Linked DNA regions of Homo sapiens: all the other regions are linked to region 3. The links are contacts of gene promoters, found by promoter capture Hi-C in blood cells and fetal thymus (Javierre and others, 2016). All regions are on one chromosome and are shown on one strand. Each heading gives the region's core, a stretch centred on a gene start or on the middle of the fragment in contact. The rest is flanking DNA. Distances are from core to core; before and after follow the strand shown.

Region 1 (3,186 bases), core at 464-2,963, 120 kb after region 3:
CATTTTCCCCCAACATTTTAATATGAACTTTTTTTTTTTTTTTTGGACGGAGTCTCCCTCTGTTGCCCAGGCTGGAGTGCAGTGGCAGGATTTCGGCAGTGGTGCCATCTCAGCGCACTGCAAGCTCCGCCTTCTGGGTTCACGCCATTCTCCTGCCTCAGCCTCCCGAGTAGCTGGGACTACAGGCTCCTGCCACTATACCCGGCTAATTTTTTGTTTTTGTATTTTTAGTAGAGATGGGGTTTCACCATGTTAGCCAGGATGGTCTTGATCTCCTGACCTTGTGATCCGCCCACCTCGGCCTCCCAAAGTGCTGGGATTACAGACATGAGCCACTGCGCCCAGCCTTAATATGAACATTTTTTAAACATACAGCAAAGTAAAAATAATTTTACAGTGACCCCCTCCCCACCTAAATCTACCATTAACATTTTACTATACTCTTTTTTTTTTTTTTTTTTCTTGAGACAGAGTCTCACTCTATTGCCCAAGCTGGAGTTCACCTTCTGGGTTCAAGCGGTTCTCCTGCCTCAGCCTCCCAAGTAGCTGGGATTACAGGCACACACCACCATGTTCAGCTAATTTTTGTATTTTCAGTAGAGACGAGGTTTTGCCATGTTGGCCAGGCTGGTCTCAAACTCCTGACCTCAAGTGATCTGCCCACCTTGGCCTCCAAAGTGCTGGGATTACAGGTGTGAGCCAACCACGCCTGGCCCATTTTGCTATACTCTTATTGTATATCTCTCTATCAATCATTTTGTGAATTCATTAATTCATCTTAATTTTAGATACATTTTAAAATAAGTTTCCTACAGCTGTAGACTTCCCCCTAAACATTTAGCACGTATACCATTAACTGGAGTTCAACAGTTTTTGTCTTTTTGTGTAAAATTAACATACGGTGTGTATTAGTTACCAATTTATAACCAATTACCCTAACATATAGCACCCTAAAACAAACCAAAACCCTATGCGTTATCTTACACAGTTTCTGGGGGTCAGGCATTTGGGAGTAGCTTAGCAGGATGGCTGTAGTTCAGGGACTCTCAGGAGGTTGCATTAAGCTTTTGACGAGAGCTGCGGTCCTCTGAAGGCCTGGGGCTGGAGGACACATCTCCTGGGTAGTTCACTCACATCCGTGTGTGAAGAGGCCTCAGTTCCTCACTAGCTGACAGCAGGAAGCCTCAGTTCTTCACCACTGCCACCTCTCCTAGGCTGCTTGAGTCTCCTCATGAAATGGCTGCCAGCTTCCTCCAAAAGAGTGGTCCTAGAGAGAAAAGCAGCAGCCACATGTCTCTTAAGATCCAGCCTCAGGAGTCAAACTCCATCATTTCTCCAGTAGCCTTGGTTACATAGATAAGCTCTGTTATGGCTGAATTGTGTTCTCTCAAAATTTATATGTTGAAGTCCTAATCCCCAGTACCACAGAACCTAACTGTATTGAGAGAGTGCCTTTCTTTCTTCCTTCCTTCTTTTCTTTTCTTTTTTTCTTTCTTTTAGAAACTGAGTCTCACTCTGTCTCCCAGGCTGGAGTGCAGTGGCATGATCTCGACTCATTAAAACCTCTGCCTCCCAGGTTCAAGTGATTCTCCTGCCTCAGCCTCCTGAGTAGCTGGGATTACAGGCACCCACCACCAGGCCTGGCTAATTTTTGTGGGGTTTTTTTTGTTTTGTTTTGTCTTTTTGAGACGGAGTCTCGCTCTGTCGCCCAGGCTGGAGTGCAGTGGCACGATCTCGGCTTACAGCAAGCTCCACCTCCCAGGTTCACACCATTCTCCTGCCTCAGCCTCCCGAGTAGCTGGGACTACAGGCGCCCGCCACCACGCCCAGCTAATTTTTTGTGTTTTTAGTAGAGACGAGTTTTCACCATGTTAGCCAGGCTGGTCTCAACCTCCTGACCTCAGGTGATCCACCCGCCTTTAAAGAGGTAATTAAGTTAAAATGAGGTAGTTAGGTTGGGCCCTAATCCAATCTGACTGTTGTCCTTGTGAGAGGAGGTGATTAGGACACAAGCAACACCAGAGGAAAGACCATGTGAGGACACAGTGAGAAGGTGGCCGTCTGCAAGCCAAGAAGAGAGGCCTCAGGAGAAGCCACCCGGCCAACACCTTGATCTTTCAACCTCTAAAACTTGAAAAAATAAATTGGTGCAGTGGCTCACCCCTGTAATCCCAGCAGTTTGGGAGGCTGAGGCAGGAGGATCCCTTGAAGATAGGAGTTCAAGACCAGCTGGGGAAACACAGCAAGACCCCATCTCTATTTTTAAAAGAAAGAATTAAACATTTAATAAAGTAAAATTAATTTCTGTTATTGAGCCCCCTAGTCTGTGGTATTTTGTTATGGCAACCTGAGCATATTAATACAAGCTTCATCCAGCATGGGAGATGACTATATAGGGGCATGAATACAGGGACAAGAATCACCAGGGTCATCTTGGAGACTGGCTGCCACTCAATGAAATGCACAGATCTTGAGTGAACACTCACTACGTTTTGACAATTGTATACACTTGTGTAACCCAAACCCCTGTCAAGAACATCACCATCATCCCAGGAAGCTCCCTCAGGTCCCTTCCAAGTCAGTTCCCAACCCTTGCCCCCAGAGGTAACCACTCTTCCAAATTCTTTTTCCACCATGGATTAGAGACTCCTGTTCTAGATTCTCAAATACATGGAATCATGTAGTGTATGTTTTTCATGTGAGGCTTTTTTCACTCTGCATATTTCTGAGATTCATCCATTTTGCTGTATGTCTTACAAGTTGTTCCTTGTGGCCAGGCGCGGTGGCTCATGCCTGTAATCTCAGCACTTTGGGAGGCCAAGGAGGGCGAATCACAAGGTCGGGAGTCTGAGACCAGCCTGACTAACATGGTGAAACCCCATCTCTACTAAAAATACAAAAATTAGCTGGGTGTGGTGGCACGCACCTGTAATCCCAGCTACTCAGGAGGCTGAGGCAGGAGAATCGCTTGAACCCGGGAGGCAGAGGTTGCAGTGAGCTGAGATTGTGCCACTGCACTCCAGCCTGGGCGGACAGAGCAAGATTCTACCTCAAAAAACCAACAAACAAAAAAACAAAAACAAGTTGTTCCTTGTTATCATTGAGTCACATTCCATGGATGTATCACAGATTTCTTTATCCATTCGTCCATTGGTAGACACAGATGCTGTTTCTTTCTTTTTTCAC
Region 2 (2,928 bases), core at 129-2,628, 91 kb after region 3:
TCTGGCCATAGAGAGGGAAGCGATAATATGGGATGTTGAGAGCTTTTCAGAGGAATCAGTAGGGTCACTGCCAGGGACAGTGGAGAAAGATGGTGGATGAGCCAAGAGGATGATGCTATCATTTGTGTTATTGTGGGTTTACTTTGTGCCAGGCACTGTTGTTTGCACTTTTGTGTGTATTAACTCGGTTAATCCTTTCAGCAACCCTACAAGTTAGGGATCTCCCTTCCCCCATTTTACAGATGAGGAAGTTGTGGCACAGACAGACTAAGGAGCCTGCCCAAGGTCACGTATGACGGGCACAGAGGGTGGGATTCATAGTCAGGCTGTCTGGGACCGTGCAGGGACAAGAAGCTTCAGGAAAAGAGGACTTCCGGAACGGGGGTGTGGACACGAGGATGACTAATCGCTGCTCTATCATGAGTGCCTAGCAAGTGGGCACGCATTGCTGTCTCAGCTCAAGGTTCTTTCGAGCCGTCAGTGCACCGAGGGGAACTGTCACAGACTCCATTACACAGGACTCTCGGAACTCTCCCCTCCCTCTCTCAGAGTAGCACTGATTCTGGGGAGCTCTCAGAGATACCGCCTGAAACAGCGTCTTCTCGGGGACTTGCCTGCTTCTCAAGACTCTCCCAGAGAAGCTGAGCAAGGCTCTGATTGACAGGAGGGAAGCCGACAAACTTCCTCTTTCCCTCTGCTCCCAGACTCACAGTCTTACCAGAGCCCTGGCCATTTCCTCATATCCCTATTCCTTTGAAAACCCCAGCTTGTTCTGTTTCTGCATTACATCCCTTTCCTGAGGCAGTGACAGGGGTCACAGTGGGGGCGCAGGATGGCCAAGGACCAAAAGGTAAAAAGAAATATGATTTGATACACACAGGTGCCTGTCGTCCCAGGCACTTGGGTGGCTGAGGCAGGAAGATCACTCGAGCCCAGGGGTTCAAGGCTGTATTATGCTTTGATGGTGCCTGGAAATAGCTACTGCACTCCAGCCTGGGCAACATAGCAAGCCCCTGTGTTTTTAGCACACACGCACACACACACACACACCAGTTAATTTCAAAAATGTTATCCCACCACACTGAAAATTTTGCCAAATAGTATCTTTTGTCAGTCCTTTGAGGTAGAGCTTATCACACTCATTTTTGCAGCATAGGAAGCAGCCTCAGAGAGGCAAAGAAACTTGTCCCAGGCTGCACAGCAGGAATGCAGCAGAGGTGGGACTTGAACTCAGAGCTTTCTAAGTGCAGAGCCCATCCTTCTGCGCATAATAGTGAACATTTTAACACCTGCTATTGGGCTAAAATACTCTTCTAAGTGCTTTTTATATATACTGTTTCATTTATTCTTCACCACAAACCCATAAGGGCCATTCTGCTATTATCTCTGTTTACAGATGAGGAAACTGAGGTCCCAAGGGAATAGATCACTTGCCCAGGGTCACCCCACTAGGAAGTAGGAGAGCTAGAAACGAGGTCTCACTATGTTTCCAGGCTGGCCTCTAACGCCTGGGCTCAAGTAATCCTCCTACCTCAGCCTCACAAAGTGCTGGGATTACAGGTGTGAGCCACAACATGTATTTTGTGACTGCTTTATTTCACCAGCATATGTTCTCAAGGTTCATCCACGTTGTGGCAGAATTTCCTTTCTTTTAAAAGCTAAATAACATCCATTGTTTGGATGGACCACGTTTTGTTTATCTTTTGTCTGTCCATGGACACCTGGGTTGCTTTCACCATTTGGCTACTGTGAATAATGTGAATAATGCTGCTAGGAACACGACTGTACAAATGTCTCTTTGAGACCCTGCTTTCAATTCTTTTGAATATATACCCAGAAGTGGCATTGCCGGATCATATGGTAATTCTATTATTACATTTTTGAGGAACCACAATATTGTTTCCACAGTGGCTGCACTATTTTACATTCCCAGCCACAGTGCACGAGGGTTTAACATCTCCACGTCCTCGCCAACACTTATTTTCTGTGTTTTTATAGTAGCCATCCTAAAGGGTGCAAAGTGGTATCTCCTTGTGGTTTTGATTTGAATTTCTTAATGATTTGTGATCTTGAGCATTCTTCTCATATACTTGTTGGCCATTTGTGTATCTTCTTTGGAGAAAGTCCATTCAAATCCTTTGCACATTTTTTAATAGGGTTATTTTTGTTTTGTTACTGTTGAGTTGTGGGGTTCTTTATATATCATGGAGATTAACCCTTTTTCAGATATGTGATTTGTAAATATTTTCTTCCATTCCGTAGGTTGCCTTTTCACTGTGTTGAGTGTATCCTTTGATATATAGAAGTTTTAATGTTAATGTATTCCAGTTTATCTATTTTTACTTTTGTTGCCTGTGTTCTTGGTGTCATTGCCAAGAAATAACTGTCAAATCTATTGTCCGGAAGCTTTTCTTCTATGTTTTCTTTTAAGGGTTTTATAGTGTTAGCTCTTATGTTTAGGTCTTTGATCCATTTTGAACTAATTTTTGTTTATGGTGTAAGTTAAGGGTCCAGTTTTATTCTTTTTTTTTTTTTTTTTTTTTTTTTGTCTGAGACAGCGTCTCGCTCTGTCGCCCAGGCTGGAGTGCAGTGGCGCAATCTCGGCTCACTGCAAGCTCCGCCTCACGGGTTCATGCCATTCTCCTGCCTCAGCCTCCCAAGTAGCTGGGACTACAGGCACCTGCCACCACGCCCAACTAATTTTTTGTATTTTTAGTAGAGGCGGGGTTTCATTGTGTTAGCCCAGATGGTCTTGATCTCCTGACCTCGTGATCTGCCCGCCTCAGCCTCCCAAAGTGCTGGGATTACAGGCGTGAGCCACTGTGCCCAGCCTAGTTTCATTCTTTTACTAATACATGTGGATATCCAGTTTTCCCAGCATCATTTGTTGAAAAGACTGTCCTTTCCACCATTGAATGGTATTGACAC
Region 3 (2,938 bases), core at 408-2,907:
AACATGTATGACTTTGTATTAAAGTAACAGCTTTAAGTTCAAATGGTCCTAATGATCTGGGTGACCTTGAGCCATGGCTCACTTTCTCGAAATGGGGAGAATAGTTTTAGGATGTTGTGAAGATTCAACTATAAATGTACTTAAAACAGTACATGCTCAATACATTTTTAGGTGTTACTGTCATAATTATTTTTGAAAATCTTTCCATTCTAGTAAGTCCATTCCAAATCCAAGCCAAACACACCTGAGAGTCGTGGGGCTTTATCTCAGAATGCCTGGGAGTACAGACCCATGAGCAAGCCAACTTCCTCCTTTCCCTCCTCTCCCCCGGCCCTCTGCTGCAGGGCAAGGTAAAGCTAGGTGCCTGGGATACTGCTGGGTTTTTTTTTATCTTTTTTTTTTTTTGAGATGGAGTCACTGCAACCTCCGCCTTCCAGTTTCAAGCGATTCTCCTGCCTCAGCCTCCTGAGTAGCTGGGATTACAGGTGCGCACCACCACGCCCGGCTAATTTTTGTATTTTTTGGTAGAAACGGGGTTTTGCCATGTTGCCCAGACTGGTATCAAACTCCCAGGCTCAAGTGATCTGCCCACCTCAGGCTCCCAAAGTGCTGGGATTATAGGCGTGAGTCACCACCACACCTGGCCTATTTTAACCATTTTTAAGTGTACAATTCTGGGACATTAAGCACATTTACAGTGCTGTGTGACCATCGCCACTGTCTTTTTTCCAGAACTACTACATCATCCCAAACAGAAATGGAGGCAGGTTTTCTTTTTTTGAGACGGAGTCTCCCTCTGTCGCCCAGGCTGGAGTGCAGTGTTGCGATCTCAGCTCACTGCAAGCTCCGCCTCCCGGGTTCATGCCATTCTCCTGCCTCAGCCTCCCAAGCAGCTGGGACTACAGGCGCCCTCCACCACGCCTGGCTAATTTTTTGTATTTTTAGTAGAGACGGGGTTTAACCGTGTTAATCAGGATGGTCTCGATCTCCTGACCTCATGATCCGCCCGCCTCGGCCTCCCTAGAGGCAGGTTTTCTAAATGCTTGCATGAGTGGTTCTCCATCTTCAGCTTGTGTTAGAATCCTCTGGGGTGGGGGGCTTGTTAAAACATAGATTGCTGGGTCCTCCCTCCTCCTCCACCCCCCGCCACATCCCCCACCCCCAGTTGCTGATTCAGTAGGTCTGAGTGGGGCCCCAGGATTTGCATTTCTAACCAGCTCCTGGGTGACGCTGATGCTGTTGATTTGGGGCCACGCCTGGAAGATCGCTGTTTGAGATCAAAAGGTTTGCAGGTCAGAGTGGATGACGGCATCCTTCCAGGTCAATGAGAGAAGCCAAACTTCTATGACCTATGAGATAAGGGGTTTGTTATAGGAATTAGTTCTTATGCATTCATAGGGGGGGCGGCAGAAAGGAAGGTGGAAGAGTTGCCGGGGACCAGGGGCATCGCCACCTGGCCCTGGGTACACGGGCAAACTGGTGGAGAAGTCTACAGCCAGCCGTTGTCTGGTCCATCCCCAGCCAAGTGTCCGCGGGGGGGCCTGGGCTGCTGTTGGTTAACAGGACCAGCAGTCAGGAGAAAGAGCTGGATGCAGAATGGAGGACAGGCTCGAATGTGCTGGAACCCACGGGGCTGTCTCTCACCTCATCCAATCATGATGACCTCTAAAGTGTAATGGTCGCTGCTTCACTTCCATCTCCCAGCTTTCCACAGATTCCTCTTTTGACCAATTATAACCCAGAACCAGTCAGAGAAGGGGATTCTGGGAAAAGTAGTTCCAGCTTAACCAAGCCCGCACAGCAGGAACTACCACAGCTGATCAATCAGTCCTTGCCGCGGAACCTCCTCCTTGAACCCACAGGTGGTTTCTGGGGCTCTGCTGGGCGTTCCCTGACTCTCTTGACAGGACCTTCTAGCAGAAACAGATGTGGTCCATCCCAACAACCCCTTGCTCAGATCATCAGCTGAGAACTTAATAAAAGCAGATTTCCAGGCCCCAGCCCAGGCCTGCCGAGTCAGACTTCAGCAGTGGGACTCAGGAATCAGATTTTCAAACAAGCTCTCTAGCTGATTAACATACCCAGCCACGTTTGAAACTTCTGAAGTATGGAAAAGAAAGTGGACTCTGTCCAGGCACAGTGGCTCACACCTGTAATCCCAGCACTTTGGGAGGCTGAGGCAGGTGGATCGCTTGAGCCCAGGAGTGCAAGACCAGCCTGGGCAACATGGCAAAACTCCATTTCTGCAAAAAAGAAAAAATACCAAAATTAGTGGAGCATGGTGACACGTGCCTGTAGTCCCAGCTACTTGGAAGGCTGAGGTGGTAGGGTCACCTGACCCTGGGAGGTCAAGGCTGCAGTGAGCCAAGATTGTGCCACTGCACCCCAGCCTGGGCAACAGAGTGAGTGAGACCCTGTCTCAAAAAAAAAAAAAAAAAAAAAGGAAGGAAGGAGGAGGGAGGGAGGAAAGAAAAGAATGGAAAGGAAGGAAGGAGAGAGAGAAAGAAGAAAAAAGAAAGAGAAGAAGGAGAGAGAGAGAGACAGAGACAGAAGAAAAAGGAAAAGAGAAAGTAAGTGAACTCTGGGGCTAGACAGCCACGGGTTAGAATTCTGGTTCCACCACGTGCCAGCTTTGTGATCCTGAGCAAGTGACTTAACCCTTTATGATCCTATATTGTCTACAAGAGTTCCTCCTTTTCTATCATTTCACTCTCCACTGTTTCAGTTACCCATAGCCAACTACAATCTGAAAATATTAAATGGAAAATTCCGGAAAGATATGATTCATAAGTTTTAAATTGCATCCCATTCTGAGTAGTGTGATGAAATCTCACACTGTCCCACTCTGTCCTGCTCCAGACGTGAATCGTCTCTTTGTCCAGCAGATGGGTGCTGTCGACACTACCTGCTCATTGGTCACTTAGGAGCGGTCTGGGTT

The links. The method cuts DNA at HindIII sites, captures the fragments that hold promoters and counts their contacts. A CHiCAGO score of 5 or more calls a contact.
Region 1: a fragment that was not itself captured here is called in contact with the fragment with the promoter of TMEM51-AS2 in region 3 in 5 of 17 cell types (monocytes, M1 macrophages, M0 macrophages and 2 more); the score reaches 11.8 in monocytes.
Region 2: a contact is called between a fragment that was not itself captured here and the fragment with the promoter of TMEM51-AS2 in region 3, in 6 of 17 cell types (M0 macrophages, M1 macrophages, monocytes and 3 more). The highest score is 13.2, in M0 macrophages.

The regions. Positions count from the first base shown.
Region 1 is chr1:15,290,667-15,293,852 of GRCh38, forward strand. The region is part of intron 4 of FHAD1 (forkhead associated phosphopeptide binding domain 1); the gene reads left to right. LOC124903853 (a long non-coding RNA gene) reads right to left here and starts at 1,267. Exons shown (of 2, transcript XR_007065482.1): 1 at 985-1,267. The HindIII fragment of the contact is 1,302 bases long and covers 1,063-2,364 here.
Region 2 is chr1:15,260,989-15,263,916 of GRCh38, forward strand. The region is part of intron 2 of FHAD1 (forkhead associated phosphopeptide binding domain 1); the gene reads left to right. Among named protein-coding and RNA genes, the nearest start is that of FHAD1, 15 kb to the left of the region's middle. RefSeq lists a silencer at 505-799 and an enhancer at 574-633. The HindIII fragment of the contact is 2,052 bases long and covers 353-2,404 here.
Region 3 is chr1:15,169,967-15,172,904 of GRCh38, forward strand. TMEM51-AS2 (TMEM51 antisense RNA 2) reads right to left here and starts at 1,658. Exons shown (of 3, transcript NR_167931.1): 1 at 1,645-1,658; 2 at 1,215-1,349. All of the region lies in intron 1 of TMEM51 (transmembrane protein 51), which reads left to right. RefSeq lists an enhancer at 2,178-2,347. The HindIII fragment of the contact is 7,186 bases long and covers 1-2,938 here.